Regions from separate parts of the Homo sapiens genome. Here all the other regions are linked to region 1. Evidence: promoter capture Hi-C in 16 types of primary human blood cells and fetal thymus (Javierre and others, 2016). All regions are on one chromosome and are shown on one strand. Each heading gives the region's core, a stretch centred on a gene start or on the middle of the fragment in contact. The rest is flanking DNA. Distances are from core to core; before and after follow the strand shown. Region 1 holds the start of OR5T2 (olfactory receptor family 5 subfamily T member 2). Region 2 holds the start of OR8K1 (olfactory receptor family 8 subfamily K member 1). Region 3 holds the start of OR8H3 (olfactory receptor family 8 subfamily H member 3). Region 4 holds the start of OR8K3 (olfactory receptor family 8 subfamily K member 3 (gene/pseudogene)). Region 5 holds the start of OR8J3 (olfactory receptor family 8 subfamily J member 3).

The links. Contacts are between HindIII fragments. The CHiCAGO score rates a contact against its expected background, and 5 or more counts as called.
Region 2: the fragment with the promoter of OR8K1 here is called in contact with the fragment with the promoter of OR5T2 in region 1 in 1 of 17 cell types (neutrophils); the score reaches 6.9 in neutrophils.
Region 3: the fragment with the promoter of OR8H3 here is called in contact with the fragment with the promoter of OR5T2 in region 1 in 4 of 17 cell types (neutrophils, monocytes, total CD4 T cells and 1 more); the score reaches 10.1 in neutrophils.
Region 4: a contact is called between the fragment with the promoter of OR8K3 here and the fragment with the promoter of OR5T2 in region 1, in 7 of 17 cell types (neutrophils, naive CD8 T cells, total CD4 T cells and 4 more). The highest score is 12.1, in neutrophils.
Region 5: the fragment with the promoter of OR8J3 here is called in contact with the fragment with the promoter of OR5T2 in region 1 in 13 of 17 cell types (neutrophils, total CD4 T cells, fetal thymus and 10 more); the score reaches 17.6 in neutrophils.

Annotation. Positions count from the first base shown.
Region 1 is chr11:56,232,520-56,236,728 of GRCh38, forward strand. OR5T2 (olfactory receptor family 5 subfamily T member 2) reads right to left here and starts at 1,736. Exons shown (of 2, transcript NM_001004746.4): 1 at 1,658-1,736; 2 at 1-745. The coding sequence starts at 543. The HindIII fragment of the contact is 5,726 bases long and covers 1-4,209 here.
Region 2 is chr11:56,343,810-56,347,930 of GRCh38, forward strand. OR8K1 (olfactory receptor family 8 subfamily K member 1) reads left to right here and starts at 2,230. Exons shown (of 1, transcript NM_001002907.1): 1 at 2,230-3,189. The coding sequence starts at 2,230. The coding sequence ends at 3,189. The HindIII fragment of the contact is 5,993 bases long and covers 1-3,480 here.
Region 3 is chr11:56,121,059-56,124,893 of GRCh38, forward strand. It overlaps OR8H3 (olfactory receptor family 8 subfamily H member 3), which reads left to right and starts at 1,315. Exons shown (of 1, transcript NM_001005201.1): 1 at 1,315-2,253. The coding sequence starts at 1,315. The coding sequence ends at 2,253. The HindIII fragment of the contact is 10,899 bases long and covers 1-2,021 here.
Region 4 is chr11:56,313,114-56,317,019 of GRCh38, forward strand. It overlaps OR8K3 (olfactory receptor family 8 subfamily K member 3 (gene/pseudogene)), which reads left to right and starts at 2,031. Exons shown (of 3, transcript NM_001005202.2): 1 at 2,031-2,054; 2 at 2,887-2,944. The HindIII fragment of the contact is 10,208 bases long and covers 459-3,906 here.
Region 5 is chr11:56,137,932-56,141,662 of GRCh38, forward strand. OR8J3 (olfactory receptor family 8 subfamily J member 3) reads right to left here and starts at 2,270. Exons shown (of 2, transcript NM_001004064.2): 1 at 2,242-2,270; 2 at 1-566. The HindIII fragment of the contact is 14,492 bases long and covers 1-3,731 here.

The DNA of each region.
Region 1 (4,209 bases), core at 486-2,985:
AGGAGGGATATCACAAAAGACACGCCTAATTTCATTGGCTCCACAGAAGGATAGGCTAAATGTAGCCACTGTATGTATAGTAGCATGTAAAATGCCAGCAACATAGGAAGCATTGATGAGTGGCATGTAGACTCTGGGTGACATGCTCACTGAATACAGGAGAGGGTTGTAGATGGCTACATAGCGATCATAAGCCATTGCAGCCAAGAGAAAGCATTCTGTGGTTCCAAAACTACAAGCAAGAAACACCTGTGCTACACATCCAAGGAATGAAATGACTTTATTCTTTGTCGTAAAATCTACTAACATATTTGGGGTAATAACTGAGGAATAGCAGGCATCCACAGAAGACAACATACTCAGAAAATAGTACATGGGTTTGTGGAGCTGGGAATCCCTAATGACCACTAAAATCAGTCCTAAATTTCCCATGAGAGTGAAGAGGTAGATTGCTAGAAACAGGAAGAAGAAGATAGTCTGCAGTTCAAGATTGTCTGTGAAGCCCTTCAGTACAAATAAGGTAACTTCAGTGACATTCTTCATGTTGAAATCTAGAACAAACTTGAAGATATGCATAAAGTTACAGTTCATATTATGACAAAAAGAATGAACAACACCATGACTCAAGGGGATGTTAACTGTGCTCTTGTATATACTGTACGACATATATTCAGCAGTGCATAATTCTCTAGTAGTGAATCAGAAGACAGTGACAAACTGGTCAGCCATGTGTTCATGCCACTCACTGCAGAATCAAATGGAAGAAATGGACGTTCATTAGTTGGCTGGACTTATTCTGTTTCTAAAATCATCAGGTCTACTGGTTAATTTACCACTGAATTGTATTAAGCTGTTTATATATTAAATAATATTAAAACACACAAAAATGAGTGGCTTAAACAATCTTTGGGCATCCAAATACACAAGAGACTGTATCAGGGGACAGAGCATTGGAATACAATACCAGAATTTTAGAACTTGTAGCAATTGTGCAAAATGATTTGCTATATCTACTTGTCTATAGAATGAGAACATTAATAGTTTGTTCACAAGATTGGAGTAAATATTGAAGGAAAATTGCATTAATAAAATATAATATGTAAAATAATTTTGATTATAGAATATGCTGAATTAAGTTGGTTCTACATTCTATCAAGATTAAATCCAATGAACAGTTATGATTTTTTTCATCTGCTCATTCAAATGTCTCTGAATTATTCTTTGGAGAATGAAGAAGTTTTGTGAATTACTTGATCATTTTATGCCAAAAATAAACATGCAAATTACCATGATTCCATTTTCTACATTACAATTGTCTTAATTTTGCTTTGTGCAAATAAGATACTTCAACCAAATTTCTTGTGAGACAGGCATTTCTACTAGATGCCAAAATAAGTTATATTGGGTAAAAATTAAGTTAATATTAGCACATAGTCAAAGATTCAGAGTTATAAAGAGAAAATCACTATGATTCTTGAAGATTTAATAATATAGAATCAACTTTTTAAATTAATGCAAATCTATTTTTATGAAACAAATTTTAATGGAAGGGAGAAAACTTTAAATATCGTGAATGTAATAACGAAACACTAAGTTTGCTAAATAACAGGCATTTATTTAGCACTTGCTGCAAGAACAGACATTTCTTGTACATTACCTTATTTCACCTTTATAGCAACTTTCATAGCTAACAATTTCCAGAGCCAAGATTCAATCCCAGGTTTCTCTCATTGTACATGAAATTTTTGCATTTTTTCATGGCCTCATAAATGGCTTCATTCTGCAACTGGAACACTCTTCCTCTTACCCCTCTGCTGACCTCAGGGAAATAAAGGTAAAGCAAAACATGATTCTCGATGTATTTGTATTTTTTAAGCCATTAAATCTAGAGAAACATAAAATAAGTAGCAATCTGAAGTGACTTCTAGATTATAAAGCCAGAAAATAAATTTAAAATAAGTATTGATTGTTTTCCTTATTACTTCAAAATACAAGACCCCAGATAAATGAATAAGTCAAATGTTTTTTTGCCCTTTGTTGATATTTATTGGTAAATTCATGACCTTTGAACTATCTTTATCTATAAGAAAAATACAAGCATATACTCTATTAGGAGCACTCTTATTTATCTCTATAAGTACAAATACAATATTTTCTATTTTTTATTGTTTTCTAGTAAGTGTTGGATTTTAATTCTTAGGCATAACTCTAAATAAATCATATTTTGATGAATACACTTGATTCACATATGTAATAGTCCAGAACTGAAGTGTTTAGTTCTTGGTGTTTAGCAGCTAAAAAGTTTAGTAAAAAAAAACATAGTTATTCTTGATATTGTAGGTTCTAGCTGCCGAAATATTCTTCAAATTATCTGAAATTTTCTCTTACCTGTGGAACAGCAAATGCAGATTTAGGTATTCTATGAATATGGCTAACTTAGATTGTTTATATCTTTGTAATTGACTGTTGATGAAATCCAAGGAGATGTCCCAAGGGGAATATGCCCCAATTATCTTCTGTTTCAAAATAGCACCATGATGATTTACTTAATAATAAAAAGTAAATGATTCCGGAATAAGGCACTGCATGCTCCTACTTATTGAATCAATAGAGTTCTTTGGCTTCTGTTTAAAATGTGTCAGATTTGAATTTCCCTGATGACTACTGATGTTGAACATCTTTTCATACATCTGAAGGCCATTTGTATGTCTTCTTTGGAAAAAAAATGTATTCAAGTCCTTTGCCAGTTTTAAAATAAGATTATTGTTATTGTGGCTATTGAATTTATATATTTTGATATTAATCCCCTATTAGATATATCATTTACAAATATTTTTTGTTTGGCTGATGGTTTTCTTCATTGTGCAGAAGATTTTGACTTTGACGTAGCCCTACTTGTCTAATTTTGGTTTTGTTACTTGGCTTTTTATGTCATTGCTTGTATTTTTATGTTACATCCAACAAGTTACTGCCAAGCTGAAGGTCCTAAAGTTTTTCCTTATGTTTTCTTCTAGAAATTGTAGTTTCAGGTTTTATGTTTAAATTTTTAATCCATTTTGGGTTGGTTATTTTATATGGTATAAGACAAGGGTCCAATTTAATTTCCCATTGTGTATTCTTGGCACACTTGTGAAAGATCATTTGACTATATACATGTGGGATTGTTTCCAGGCTCCCTATTCTGTTCCGTTGGTCTATATATCTGTCCTTATTCCAGTCCCATGCTATTTAATTACTGTAGTTTTGTAATATCATTGAAATAAAAAAGTATAATACCTCTAGCTTTGTTTTTCTTTCTCAAGATTCCTTTGGCTATTTGAAGTCTTTTGTAATTGCACATAATTTTTACGATGTTTTTTCTATTTCTGTAAAACCCAGCACTAGGATTTTGCAGGAAATGCATTAAATCTGAAGACCCCTTTGGGTAATATGGAGATTTTAATTATTGCAGATCAAAACCACAATGAGATATCATCACACACCTGTTATGGCCATTATTTAAAAAAAAAAAGTATTGATAAGAATGTGGAGAAATTGGAACCCTGGTGTACTGTTGACAAGAATATAAAACAGTGCAGCCATGATTGAAAATAGTATGGAAGTTCCTTGAAACATTAAAAACAGGATTACTATACAATCCTGAAATTCTGAAACCACCTTCGCAAAATTATGACAGTAAGAGAAATCTGCCATGACTGACTTCTTCTTGCTTCTATCATCACAGGCTGTCTGTCTTTGCTCATCTCTGGGCATGGACCAAATAACTTCGGGAGAAATTTAGTTTATAGTTTAAATGATAATAGTCCTTTGCAAAAACTAAACCACCTTTGTAAAACTAATCAAAGGCACCAAGTTAAGAGGATGAGAGGAGTCTGTGTTCTGCTAAGATATAGGCCTAGTAAAATGATTACCAGCCATTTTTTCCTGGAAGTCACAAGATTTGCAGCTTCCCCAATTATTCCTGCAGATAACATAGCTATTGTAGAACCTAAGATTGGCATTTTGAGATTCTTTTCAAATATTTGTATATCTGATAGCTGGATGGCCCCACCTGGACCTCTGACTCAAACAGTCATGTGGCCCCCACCCAGAAACACACTCAACACATGAGGATCATTTTCCACATCCCTATGATTCATCCTAAACTGATCAGCAACACCCATACCCTAGCCCTCTGCCCATCAAACTATCTTTGAAAAGCACCTAACT
Region 2 (4,121 bases), core at 980-3,479, 110 kb after region 1:
GAACTGAACAAAAGATGACTTAAACAGTCAACAATGAAGACTACTGAAAATAAAGCCAGAGTAAAAATATACTGAACGAAAACCATGAAAATAGTCTTAGTGATTTGTAGAACAATAACAAGTTATTTAAGTCATGTTTAATTTTAAGTCTAAGTGTAAAGAAGAGATTATATAGTGCAGAAAATACACAGTAAAAAATATTGGCCAGAATTTTCTTCTAAATGTATTTAAAAAAAACCAAAATCCTAGACATACAAAAAGCTAAAATAATTCCAAGTAGGGTAAATTGAAAGGAAATTATGCTAAAATGCATTATAGTCAAATTTCTGAAAACCAATAACAAAGAAAAATTCTTAAAAACAGCCAGAGATAAATGATACATCATAAACAAATGAAGAAATTATTTGCCACTGATTTCTTGACATAAACAATACAATTAATAAAATATTATCTTCTCTCAGCTTAATATAGTTTATAAGAAATTGTTTTATGTCAGTTTATAATCATATATTCAACAAAATATATGTGGTCAATGGATGTATTATCAAATATTATATAACTTTTTTCAAGAAAGTCATTATTTCACTTACTTGTGACTTGTTGGGGATTATATATGTAATATTTGCATGCAATGCTGAAAATGGCATTTGTGATTTCCAGTCTTTAGTGATATTGCATAATTTATTTTTTCAGTTAGACAAAGGCATAAGTATTTACGACTTTTTCTTAATGGAACATTCGGAGAATAATCAACAGATATTCAAGGCACTTTCCCTCAGGTAATTACGTAGAATTTGTTTAACCTTGGGTCAGATTAACATTTCAACACAATGAGTCTCAAGGGAGGAGAAAAAATTTAAATCCATTCGGTAGCCACCTATGAGGCCTAAAGCAGTAGAAAGCAAAGCAAATTCTCCATTGAGGTAAGCGGAAACATTGGTCTTAGAAAATTTCTAAGGGTACATCCTTAAAGCAGGTTGTCACCAAAAATCTGGAAGGGTCCCATTCTCTGCAAAACTGTTGCCTCCCTTGCAATATACTGTTCTGTCATCAATAGGACAGATGTGCAGACAGACCTGTTATACAGTCTCCAATACTCGAGGCTGGTCATTATTTATGCCACCTTAGCTTTCAAATTACTTCATGCTTCAGTCATCTATTTTAACAAAGATCTTTATCATTATTTACCTTGTGTCTTTCCTGTCTCATTCTCACTTCCTAACAATGAAGGGTATCCCTAATGGAGAAGTGGTGTGTTAGAGTGTTTATGAGAACATATTCTGAAGGCAGAATGGCTTTACTTGAATCCTTACACTACAACTTATAATGTGAAAGATCTTTGTTAAATTATCCAACTCTTTGTGCCTCAGTTTCTTTTTCTTTTAAATGGGGATGATATTACTGCCTACTTCCTAAAGTTATTGTGTAGATCATATGAGTTAATATGTGTAAAGCACTTGCAAAATTGCCTAGCATGCTATGGATTTGCTTAGGTTCTTGATATTCATTTGTGTTTCTCTATCCACTGAGCCCTTTTTTATGATTCTCTCTTAAATGTTCATGAATTGTAAGAACAGCCAGATTTTTTTTTTCCTGCAGAAGGATGTATAATTGGGGGATTATACATCCCCCCAATTGCTCACTAGAAGCAGCAATTCAATAGGCAAAAAGTTCAAATGCAGATTAAGATATTATTAACAAAATTCTCAAATTATGGCATAAAATTTTGTTTTTGGTAAACAAGTTGAATTTATAGACAGAAGTATTGACATGTATATAATGATCAGAGATTTCCTACTGCCCTATTCATTACTCCATCTATAGTTTTGAAAATCTTGTCTTGCTTCTTTCAATGATCAGCAAAAATGTAAAGTTTAATGTATAGATGTTTGTTTTACAAATTACCTGAAAATTGTGGTAAGCAGAAACAAAAGTGGTAGCTATTTTTACATAATTAAAATGACTCTGGGTCCAAAAAGTAGGTCATAGTAGCTACATCAAAACAACAACTTCAAAATATCTTGCCCCTTTTAATTATACTTTACCACAGTTTTAATGAATGTGACTGTAGCTTTGTGTGGTTTTGACCTGATGGGAAGAGGAGACTCTATTTAGAATTTGAAATAAAGGAAATACCTCTATTGCTCATACATCAAATTGTTAATTTTCTTAGAAGATAATGTTTCAAATATAATAAATATTGATTTTCTAGTTTGCACAGTTACCAAGATGAATCATGTGGTAAAACACAATCACACGGCAGTGACCAAGGTGACTGAATTTATTCTCATGGGGATTACAGACAACCCTGGGCTGCAGGCTCCACTGTTTGGACTCTTCCTCATCATATATCTGGTCACAGTGATAGGCAATCTGGGCATGGTTATCTTGACCTACTTGGACTCCAAGCTACACACCCCCATGTACTTTTTCCTTAGACATTTGTCAATCACTGATCTTGGTTACTCCACTGTCATTGCCCCGAAGATGTTAGTAAACTTCATAGTGCACAAAAACACAATTTCTTACAATTGGTATGCCACTCAGCTAGCATTCTTTGAGATTTTCATCATCTCTGAGCTCTTTATTCTATCAGCAATGGCCTATGATCGCTACGTAGCCATCTGTAAACCTCTTCTGTACGTGATCATCATGGCAGAGAAAGTACTTTGGGTGCTGGTAATTGTTCCCTATCTCTATAGCACGTTTGTGTCACTATTTCTCACAATTAAGTTATTTAAACTGTCCTTCTGTGGCTCAAACATAATCAGCTATTTTTACTGTGACTGTATCCCTCTGATGTCCATACTCTGTTCTGACACAAATGAATTAGAATTAATAATTTTGATCTTCTCAGGCTGTAATTTGCTCTTCTCCCTCTCAATTGTTCTCATATCCTACATGTTTATTCTAGTGGCCATTCTCAGAATGAACTCAAGGAAAGGGAGGTACAAAGCCTTCTCCACCTGTAGCTCTCATCTGACAGTGGTGATCATGTTCTATGGGACATTGTTATTTATTTACTTGCAACCCAAGTCCAGTCATACTTTGGCTATTGATAAAATGGCCTCAGTGTTTTATACCCTGTTGATTCCTATGCTGAATCCGTTGATCTACAGCCTAAGGAACAAAGAAGTAAAAGATGCTCTAAAGAGAACTTTAACCAATCGATTCAAAATTCCCATTTAATATCTTAATACTCAGTTGCATAGTTGGGTACAATAATCTGTTTAGTACTCTGTCAAACCAATTATAACATAAAAAAAGTAGAAATACTCTATCTGCTTAGATTTTCCTCTTTTTCTGGACAAAACATGTCCTCTTAGAGCAACCTGTACTCTTTGCCACCTCAATGGAATAAATAAATACTATATTCAGGTAATATATGTCCTAAGCAATTTTCGAAATCATACTGGAACCGCTACTATTTATAAATAAGGCAAATTATGTCAAACTTAGAGTTGCAGAGTTAAAATGAAAAGCTTATATAGTTCAAACAGAGTAAAAATAACCGGAAAATTAGTAATAGATATTTCCCAGCAGGCACTAGGTATTAAATGTAAATAAGATTGAACCATAGAGAACATGTAGGCTAGATAGGAAGCAAGAAAGTAAGTAAATATGTGATTATAACATAACATGAAAAGGCTGTTTATTTAGCCTGACCAACTTGGTGAAACCCCGTCTCTACTGAAAATACAAAAATTAGCCAGGCACAGTAGCATTCACCTATAGTCCCAGCTATTCGGGAGACTGAGACAGGAGAATTGCTTGAACCCGGGAGGCGGAGGTTGCAGTGAGCTGAGATCACGCCACTGCACTCTCCAGCCTGGGCGACAGAGCCTGACTCCATCTCAAAAAAAAAAAAAAAAGAAAAGAAAGAAAAGAAAAGGCTGTGTAAACATTAAAGCTAAGAACACAATAAAGTATGCTATCTCAGAATGAGGTTTTTCAATCAGATGAAGTTAGTATTGTATATCTTAGGGATAAAGTAGGTTTTTGATTAGGAATGATGAGAAAAATATTGGATTATTCTAGATCCTCCTTGACAGATTCTAGCACTATTGCAAACACTGGTTTATGAGAACTTCCTGATAAGCTGATTTAGAATTGGCAACCTG
Region 3 (3,835 bases), core at 65-2,564, 110 kb before region 1:
AACCTAAACAAAATTTCTAGATTGGTTTATCATAACTCAGAATAAAACATAATGAATGCACCAAAATGTAAAAACAACTTATCTCAAGGAAAACAAATATTATAAAAATTTTCATCTCCTTAAATAGTTTTCTTATTTTATTTATAACAAAAATTTGAAGTTGACAAATTTCCATACAGATAATATAAGAAGAAAGTTTTTTCATGAATGTTGACTTACACACAGTAAGTATTATTCTCAAAATTGGAAGATTTTGTTTCACATTTTACTTCAGATGAAATAAAATGGGGACTTTCGCAGAATAATATATTAATATATATTAATGTATATATTAATATATACACATATCATTTACTCTCTACCCTAAGTAATGTCAGGGTTTGTGAGACAAATGTAGAGTTGCCAGAATCAGAGTCTACAAGCAAAGTATACATTTTGAAAATATAATTTTTTGGAAGAAATTAGATTTTGATTAGTTATGTCAGGAAAACATCACATCTTTTATAAATTAATACTTATATATTGTCTATAATTTTAATGTACCTGACTAAAAACCCCAAGGGTGAAATTTATTGAAAATTATTATTAAATAATATTGGAAACAAAAGGGCAGTAAATTATATAATAAAACTGTTTCCTCTCATTTTTTATTACATGTCCACCTCTTTTCTCAAGTTTTCTGAAATTATTTATAAACAAGATTGTAGTATTATAAGCCTTCTCTCTGAAGGAATATATCTTTGTAGAATCAGTGTCAACATTGAATTGATCTGACTTTGGATAAGTTACTCCAACCTTCCATACTCTTTTTTTCCCTCACCTAAACTATGTGGATAATAGTAGTATCTATGGTATAATATTTTCAGGTGGATTAAATATATTAATAAAGGAAGCCATTCAGAACAATGTCAGGTTCATTCTAATTATGCAATATGCTACATTTTATTATAACATATGCAAATGTTAATTTGAACTTATATCTATATTGGCAATAAAATTAGTCTCTTTAGTCATATTCTATAAATTTATTAGCAATTTGTAGAATGTTAAACTAATTATTAAATGCTAGGTCATTCATATAAACAGAAATTTTTTTTGATTGTTTTGTTTATTTTTTTTGAGTCGGAGTCTGGCACAGTTGCTGGGGCTGCAATGCAATAGTGTGATCCCAGCTCACTGCAACCTCTGGCTCACTGCAACCTCCGGCTCCCATGTTCAAGCGATTCTCCTGCCTCAGCTTCTCCAGTAGCTGGGAGTACAGGCGCCCCTGCTACGTATCAACTTTGATTTCTCAGCAGTTTAGAGCAGGTGAACATGATGGGTAGAAGGAATGACACAAATGTGGCTGACTTCATCCTTACGGGACTGTCAGACTCTGAAGAGGTCCAGATGGCTCTGTTTATGCTATTTCTCCTCATATACCTAATTACTATGCTGGGGAATGTGGGGATGCTATTGATAATCCGCCTGGACCTCCAGCTTCACACTCCCATGTATTTTTTCCTTACTCACCTGTCATTTATTGACCTCAGTTACTCAACTGTCGTCACACCTAAAACCTTAGCGAACTTACTGACTTCCAACTATATTTCCTTCACGGGCTGCTTTGCCCAGATGTTCTGTTTTGTCTTCTTGGGTACTGCTGAATGTTATCTTCTCTCCTCAATGGCCTATGATCGCTATGCAGCGATCTGCAGTCCTCTACACTACACAGTTATTATGCCCAAAAGGCTCTGCCTCGCTCTCATCACTGGGCCTTATGTGATTGGCTTTATGGACTCCTTTGTCAATGTGGTTTCCATGAGCAGATTGCATTTCTGTGACTCAAACATAATTCATCACTTTTTCTGTGACACTTCCCCAATTTTAGCTCTGTCCTGCACTGACACAGACAACACTGAAATGCTGATATTCATTATCGCTGGTTCCACCCTGATGGTGTCCCTTATCACAATATCTGCATCCTATGTGTCCATTCTCTCTACCATCCTGAAAATTAATTCCACTTCAGGAAAGCAGAAAGCTTTCTCTACTTGCGTCTCTCATCTCTTGGGAGTCACCATCTTCTATGGAACTATGATTTTTACTTACTTAAAGCCAAGAAAGTCTTATTCCTTGGGAAGAGATCAAGTGGCTCCTGTGTTTTATACTATTGTGATTCCCATGCTGAATCCACTCATTTATAGTCTTAGAAACAGAGAAGTGAAAAATGCTCTCATTAGAGTCATGCAGAGAAGACAGGACTCCAGGTAGTTAAAATAGCAGAAATGGAACATTTAATCTCATCTTTTCTTTCATTCCTATTGGGTATTTTCTTAGTCTCTCTATAAAAACAATTGAATCCTTTAATTTATTTGCATTTCTGTTGTGCTACTCTTTGCTTGACTAAACATGATTTAAAACATTTCAAGGCATATGTTTTTAGAAATCCAAATGGTAATTAGAATCATAATATGTGTGTCATGTTTTGAAGCAACTGATGTGGAAAATAAGAAAATAAGGTTGTCATTTTTAATTATATTATTCAAATTCTTATGTATGCTTCAACTGTAGATAAATTTATTATGGAAAGAATATTTGAGACACGGTGATAATAGTTTTAGATGTTATTCCATTTATTATGTGGGGAAGAATCATAGCAGAGTGGGTAGGAGTACTTACTTTGGAATAAAATTTTCCAAGAGTTAGATTCTAAATATGCTACACTTTTAGCTGTGTAGCCATTAATATGTTACCTAAAGCTTAAGCCTCCTTTCCCTAAGTGCGCAAGATAAATAACTCCAAATCTGATCAGAGGGTAGTTGTAGAGTATTTAAAGCGATAATAATTAATGCTTCCCATTATCATTAGAAGACCTACATTACTGCACAGTGCGTTTTTTCAAGAATGTAAACTCGTGTTTCACAAATTACTTTTGGTTAATTTAATTGACAGAACTAAAAAGAACAAAAATCAGCAGCTCACAATTTTGGATTTCAGAAGTAAAATATTTCAGTAGAATTATGTTATAGAAAAAATAGCCTATATTAATATAATGTTAGAGAAAATTTGAAAATATTATAAAATATTGAAGAAAATAGAAATCCTCTACAAATATTGAGTTTTGGCTGCTCTTCCTGTGGAGTAGCCATTCTTTTGTTTATTTACTTCTCTAATAAACTCGTTTTCAGTTTTAGAAAAACAAATATTGAGTTTTGTGCATGTTCTTCTAGATCAATAGTTTCAAATACGTGCACATATATAACGCATATAAACAAAAATTTCTATCACTTTCTACATACTGATTTTCAGCTTTCTGTATTCATTTACAAGTTTAACATTAGATAATCTCTTTGTCATCGACAAATCTAACATAAAGTTTTTCTTGATACATGGGCACAATCAAGTCTCATTTCACAATGTTTTGGACTTGAAATATAAATTCATCACGTTAAAAATCTACATGCAGTGATATGTCCTTTGCATGCTAAACAGGTGAAAAGTGGATTTCCGTAATGTGTCAAATTGCTTCTTTATTAAAATCCTGTGTGTTTTTAAAAATCATTGCCTTTCTCCTGTTTTCTACAGGTTTGTTTCAGTTTTAAAATAACTCCTTGAATTAAATGCTTTATTCATTGATTTTACATTTCTTAATACAGAAAAGATGTAAAGCAAAGAATTGACAATGAATTCAGTTGTTGTGACATCCCATCAATTTTAGTCAGGTAGTGTGCTTAAATGTCTTTTATTTTTAAATGTTTTCCTTACATATTCTGGAAACACAGTTTTGTTTTTATCTGCTATTTAAAGGATATTTTAGAAGCTAGTTTTTATTTTCCAAGTATTTGTCTTTTTT
Region 4 (3,906 bases), core at 781-3,280, 81 kb after region 1:
GTGCAGCAATGTGTCCATGATCATGGAATTCACTAGTCATACTCACCATGCTGCCCAACATCCCAAAGAAACTGGCTTTGAAATTTTAATTACAATTCAGCTAGATGGCAATAATTTGAATAGCTGGGGAAAAGTTTGCAAGAAAGCTATATATGCTTTGAATTAGTCTCCAGTATATTGTGCTGTTTTTTTGCCATAGACTGGATCTAGTAGCCTAGGAATGAAGAGATGGAAGTATGAGTGACACCACTCACTATTTTTTTTAATTTTTTAATTTTTTTATTATCCTTTAAGTTTTAGGGTACATGTGCGCAATGTGCAGGTTAGTTACATATGTATACATGTGCCATGTTGGTGTGTTGCACCCATTAACTCGTCATTTAACATTCAAGACACCACTCACTATTAACCCTAGTGACCCACTGTCAAAATTTCTGCTTCCTGCTCCATTGACTTTAAGCTTTACTGACCTACAGGTCTTAGTCACAGAGGAATGAATGCTTCCACCTAGAGAAATAGCAATAATTCTATTGAATTGGAAGTTAAGACTCTTACCCAGCCATTTTGAGCTCCTCATGCAACTGAATCAATAGACAAAACAGGAAGTTATCACACTTGATCCTGACTTTCCAGGGGAAATTGGGCTATTACTTCACAATACAAGGAAGAATAAGCCTGGAATATGGGACATTCCTTAGGACATCTTTTATTAATAAGAAAAACTGTAATAATAATATACGGAAAACTGTAATAGCCCAAACTAGCCAGAACTACTAATGGCCCACATTCTTCAGGAATAAAGGTTTGGGCCACTTCACAAGGAAAAAAGAACCATGGCCAACTAAGGTGCTTGCTAAAGACAAAAGGAATAGAGTATGGAAAGAAGAAGAAGACGGTTATAAATACCAGCTATAATCATGTGGCCAGTTCAGAAATGAGGACTGTAATTGTAATGAGAATTCCATCCTAATTTTATTATAAATATGTCTGTGTATTTATTAAGATGCTTTATTCCATTTTTTATTACCTTATTATATAAATATGATATATGGACTTTACATCAATATTTAAATATTGTTACTTTTACACTGTAGAATTTTACTCTGAGAAAATCAGGAGAAGAGTCAGTATCACTCAAAGAATATATGTCCTGATTGGAATAAAGGATTAGTGAGTTTTTATTTATATGCCGGATAGTTGTGTCATGTAAAGCAAAACTATGACCTTGTTATTGTCTATGTTTAGAGAGACTAAGTATGGTTTAAGTACATGCTTATGTTTGCCAAGCTGACAAGGGGTGGAGTAATGACGATTAAAGTGTTGACTTAACTAGGCTATATGATGCCCAGATAGCTGGCAAACATTATTTCTGGGTGTGCCTGTGAGGATACTCCTGGAAGAGACTACGATTGTTAGACAGAGTAACTATCATCCTCACCAATATAGGTGGGTATCAGTGCAATCAATTGAGGCCTTGAATAAAACAAAAAGACAGAGGAAGGGTGAGTTCACTCCCTGCTTAAGCTAGGACATCCTTCGCTTCCTGCCATCAGACATTGACATCCCAGATTCCAGAGCCTTCGAATTCAGACTATGATGTACACCCTTGGCTCCCCTGGCTCCCAATATTTCAAGTTTGAACTGAATCTATACCACCAGCTTTCTTGAAGTTTGCAGACAGCAAATCACAGGAATCCTCAGCCTACATAATTGCATAAAACAATTCATAATAAATCTCTATTATCTATCTATCTATCTATCTATCTATCTATCTATCTATCATCTATCTATCTATCTATCATCTCTCATCTAACTATCTCTTCTTAGTACTGTTTTTCTGGAGAACTCTGATACACTAGTGAATACAAACTGTCTTCTACAACTAATGGACAGCCTCAAACATTTTGTTATGCTCTCAAATGCTTTAGGAATTATCAATAAATTGCCTGCCATCTCCTCAGGGAGAGTCTCAAAAGATTAAAAAATGCATAAATTGTTCTCACTGTGCCATGTGAGAGACACATGGAGGAGTCAAGACAGAGGCTTCCTTACAGGTAAAAAAAAAAAAAGTAAGAATGTTTCTTGTGGTGTCATATGTTACAGATATCTATAATGCTTCAGTGACATTGGAAAACTGCCACTTTAATTTGATGACATAACCATAGTAAAGTGTGACAATTTCTGATTCATTTCTCCGGGATTTCTGTTACTCAATAATGCCTAAGCAGAAATAACGGTGCTCCATTTTTCATATGCTTTTTAAGTATTTTACATGGTTTCACAGGCTGAATGCTATAAGCATCTTTGAAACATTATCATGATATTGTTTCTAAAGTATTCATTTTACATATTTTTCTCTAATTGAGGCCAAAACTTGGAGAAAATAAAGCACAATGACAAGGAGATAAATATATTTTTAATGAAAGAATGGAGAAACTGCAACTATTTGGTCAGTCATGTTCATGTCCTTCCAAATACTTGTTATTTAGATGCTCTAGGCTCTCAGACCCCTTAACAATAATTTAACACTGAATGATTATTCAAATAAATGTGTAGATATGATTGTTTTCTCACTGCTTGGTGAGTCAAAAAGGGGGTTGCTACCTTACATTCGAATGTGAAAAGCATTATTAAAAATTATGAGGCTTTTTGGGTAATCATAGGCACAGAAAAAAAAAACATTTTAAAATAGAAGAAAATAAAATTAGGAGACTGTTAAGTACCCAGTTTTAGGGAACAATACAATTTTCAGAAAGTACTTCAATTTCCACTAAGAGTTGACAAAAGCAGATATTATTTTCTCAAAGATTGTAGCTTTAAAAAATGCAATTGATATTCAACAAAGACAGCAAAATATGAAAAAAAGCAATCTGGTTCTTTCCACAGAACTCCAAAGATGGTGAAAGGAACCTCATTTATATTTCCTTACCTAACAAGAAAACAGGTACTTATCCATGATATTATTTGCCTTTCTAAATTGCCAAACTGTACAAAACAAGCAAACAAAATACAGGATTTATGCTGCTCATCATCTTATTTACTAAAGATATTTATCTAACTTTTCCATCTACTGCCACACATTACCATATATCTAATATGAGAAAGGTGTGTTCATTGAGTCAGGGTAGGATAGGAGTAGGTCATAATTTTATTTAAAAAATTAAGTTCAAATAATATGTAATCATCTTTATATTTAATGTAACACAATTGCTTGTCTTTATTTTTTCATAGCTCACTCTGAGATTGCTGTCACTATAATTTTCATTGTAAAAACTATTTTCTTTCTTTTCTTTTTTCAAAAAACATTGGGGCTTACGATTTTTTTTAACTAATAATGATTATCTTAGGTTATCATGCCCTCCATCTCCTGCTCTACTATATTTTAAATCTGTGGGTTATTGGGGGATATTTAGATATATATTTATTCGATTATACATATGTTAATTTGTATTATGTGCTATACCATATTTCCTAGTTTCTGTGGCTTGCATGTTCAGAAAAGTTTTAAATCACAGCCAGAAATCCACGTATATCTCATGTTTAGTGTATTCATTTTGTCTCTATGTTATTGTGTAACAAGGTGACTTTTAATCATTTCTTTAATCTACAGTATCCTTTTACCCAAAAAGTAGCTTTTACTAATTTTCATTATACAAAACCAATATGAAGGACCACATTTTCTCCCAATTTGTTCAGATTTCCTCAAACTCCCCTAAGATTTTGTATGATAAAACAAACTTAACGTTCACATTCAAGTTAGCATTTCTCAATTATATTGAGAATAAAACTATGGGAAGATTAATGTTTTAATAAAGTTTATATAAAAATAATTTATTTAAAATGTTATTAAATTCGTTGTGAAAAATAGATAAGTAATCCAAAACAATAGCATACCAATTACCCAAG
Region 5 (3,731 bases), core at 1,020-3,519, 94 kb before region 1:
AATTTAGTATGGCAAAGTAAATAGTTGTTTCAGCATCCTGCAACACTTTGAGGGTTTACTGCCTTGCAGTGTAATTGAATTAAGAATATGTTCTTAGCTTACAAACATTTGAAGCTGGGATGTATCTGATGATTTTTGCACTGATCATGAGAAAGGCTTAAGAAATTGTATATCGCCAAATAATCCAATGGCTACTTGCAATTTCCTAATCTGATAATTCTTCCTTTGCCTCAAGACTAGGTACTATACTCTTCATTTTAAGAATTATATCCTTTTATAACATGTATTAGATCTATATTGAGCTTGCAAATTACAACATGCATGTTTGTTTACTACTTTTTCTCTTTCCATTTTATTAACTCAAACAAAAATACATGGATAAATCTCTTCAGATCTATTTTTCAGGTAGCTGTTTCTCTTCTTAGGTTTCCATAAATAATATCAGTAAAATTTTGTGCAGGCGTGGTGGCTCAAACCGGTAATCCCAGCACTTTGGGAGGCCGAGGCGGGCAGATCATGAGGTCAGGAGATGGAGACCACCCTGGCTAACACAGTGAAACCCCTTTCTACAAACAAACAAACAAAAAAAAATAATTAGCCGTGCGTCGTGGCGGGCGCCTGTAGTCCCAGCTACTCGGGAGGCTGAGGCAGGAGAATGGCGTGGACCCTGGAGGCGGAGCTTGCAGTGAGCCGAGATTGCGCCAGTGAGCCGAGATTGCGCCACTGCACTCCAGCCTGGGCGACAGAGCGAGACTCCGTCTCAAAAAAAAAAAAAAATCAGTAAGATTTTTATCATTTTTGTAATTCCTCAACATTATGCTTTCCTGGGTACTACTTTCTATTTCTTCCCTCTCATGACTATTCTTTTCCTTGTGCTAAAAGTTCGTACAATACTCCGTGTTTTTTTCATGATTTTTCTTTTAATTCAATTTTTTGTTTATAAAATGTTATATTTCTTAAATTTACACAATACACCTGCTCTTAATTTTAGCTGATCTGTTTTTTTTACGTTTTTTGATATTTATATTATTGTAACAGGAATAAACACCTTCATTTTGAGGGTTTTTATGATAATTATGTTGCATGTATTTGCCATAGATTCAGCGTGCTATTTTAGTATGGATGAACACTTTCCTAGAGTTGTATATTTTAATCATGATTATTTGCCCCTAACTAAGTGAATTCATGTCCTGTTGGAGTCACAATTGATAGTTCCAGTGGTGGGCACCTGGTCCAAATAAGTCTTATCATATAGTTCTTTATTTTAAAGTTCACAATTAAGTTCCAGAAAGTTAAGAATATATTATCACACAGATCTGAATTTTAAAAGCCCAGAGCTATTCAGTTTCTCTCCTTCTAAAAGAGATAGAATAGAAAGAGAAACAAATGATTATTCTACAGTGAGAAAAAATAAAGAAGTGACTACTTAAAAAAAGAAAACAGAGAAATAACACCAAAATGACTCCTAACGTTGTTGGATATCTGGTACCAGTTTGTTTGATGATACCAAGCATAAATTTTTCCTGTGGGTTCTGTGAATTATCCTCTTATTTTCCACATATTTATTAAAATTCTACTTTGTTCCAGGCTATGTTCGAGCTTCAGATAAATTACCTGACCCTCAGATCGTGAATATGTTATTGTAATGATAGGGAAGAGAAAAATCTGTTAAGAAGGCATATAAACACAATAATTGCAGATTTAAATAAGCATAATAGGTAAAACAAACAAGATAATATACTAGGATAACCTGGGAGAGTACTATCACATAGAATATTAATATTAATACTTTTACAAGGAAGGCTCTTCTGAGAAGGTGGCATTTGAATTGAAACCTAAAGGTGGAGAAGGAATTAGCTATTTAATCAGTCACAGGAAGGGCATTCCAGGATTCCAGGCAAGAATTAATTTCTTGAAAATGCGTATCTGGGAAAAAATATGGCCTATGCCACATCTGTTCTTCATTCAGATAAAGTTATCCTGCCTTTAGAATATGTTCTTATAAATGCTGTAACGTGCATAGATAGGAAATGAGAATAGGACAGGAGGGGCACTAGGTAAATAATGATAGACAAAGATCCTTGTTAAAAATAGTTGAAAAGCATGAAACATTAAGTTAATAGCCCTATATTGCAAGGGAGGAAATAGTTTTGCAGAGTATAGGGGCCTTCAACATCTTTGGTGATAACCTAGTTTAAACTCTGCCCTTGAAAATTGTCAATGATCAATGTTTCTACTTACTTCAACAGAGAATCTGCTTTGCTTTCTACTTCTTTAGCCCTCACAGGTGGCTACAGAATAGATTTAAGGTTTTTTTCTAAAACCCTTGAGACTCATTTAGTTGAAGTTTCAATCTGATTCAAGGATAAAAAATTGTACATAATTACCTGAGGGAGAGTGCCTTGGATATTTGTTAATTATTCTCAGAATTTTCCATTAGAAAAAGTCATAATATTTTATGTTTCAGTCTAACTGAATAATTGAATTATGCAATATGACTAAACACAGGAAATTATAAATATGACTTTGTCAGCATTTTGGTTACACAGTATTTTGCTCATATTAAGTATACCACACACAGACACCCATATATGCAATTTGTTAGTAAATGAGAAAAAATTTTCTAGAAAAAAACATGCAAAATTTGATAATACAACATCCATTGACAAAGAATACTTTTGGTGATTATGGTATAATTCTACCAGACATATAGTTATTGGTTGACATAAGAAAGTGTCATGACTTTGGCCGGGCGCGGTGGCTCACGCCTGATATCCCAGCACTTTGGGAGGCCAAGGCGGGCGGATCACGAGGTCAGGAGATCGAGACCATCCTGGCTAACATGGTGAAACCCCGTCTCTACTAAAAATAAAAAAAATAGCCTTGCGTGGTGGCGGGCGCCTGTAGTCCCAGCGACTTGGGAGGCTGAGGCAGGAGAATGGCGTGAATTCAGGAGGCAGAGCTTGCAGTGAGCCGAGACGGCACCACTGCACTCCAGCCTGGGCAACAGAGGGAGACTCAGTCTCAAAAAAAAAAAAAAAAAAACAAAGAAAGTGTCATAGTGTCATGACTTTTATTTTTTCTGCCAATGTATCAGTGGTAAACATTTCTTCATTCGTTTATATCTTTTATCACTAGCAATTTTGAAGAATTTTTTATAATTTTTTATAATTAAATTTTTTATAATTGATGGTGAAGCACTTTGGCATCATTTTCTTTCTGTTTATTTTGCTTGGAGTTATTTTATCCTGTTGTATCTTCATCATTATTAAAAAATAAACTTAGAAATTCTGGCCAACATCTTTTTCCCTGTTTCTTGTCCTATAATATAGTTTTTTCTTTCCACTTAGACCTTATAATTAAACATGTGGTAGGTATCTTGTTATTGTTCTATAGTTGACTGAGACTGTTTCAGTGGGTTTTGTTTTTAGTATTATGTTTCTCTCTGGCTTCATTTTGAGTGTCTATTGTGACAAGTCACATCTTTTCTTTTTCAGTGTATGTTTTTTACTCAATAAATATTTGTTCATATGTAATATTGTATTTTCATTTATTTCTCACAGTGTTGGTATTTGTGCTAAATCATTCAGTATATCCAACATCTATAATAACATTTTGAAGGTTGCACACTGCTGCTTTCTCATAGGACTAGAATTTGTGATTGGATGTTGAATATTGTAAATTTTATAAGAATAATTGCTGTGTTTTATTTTAATTTGTTTTCCTAAAAG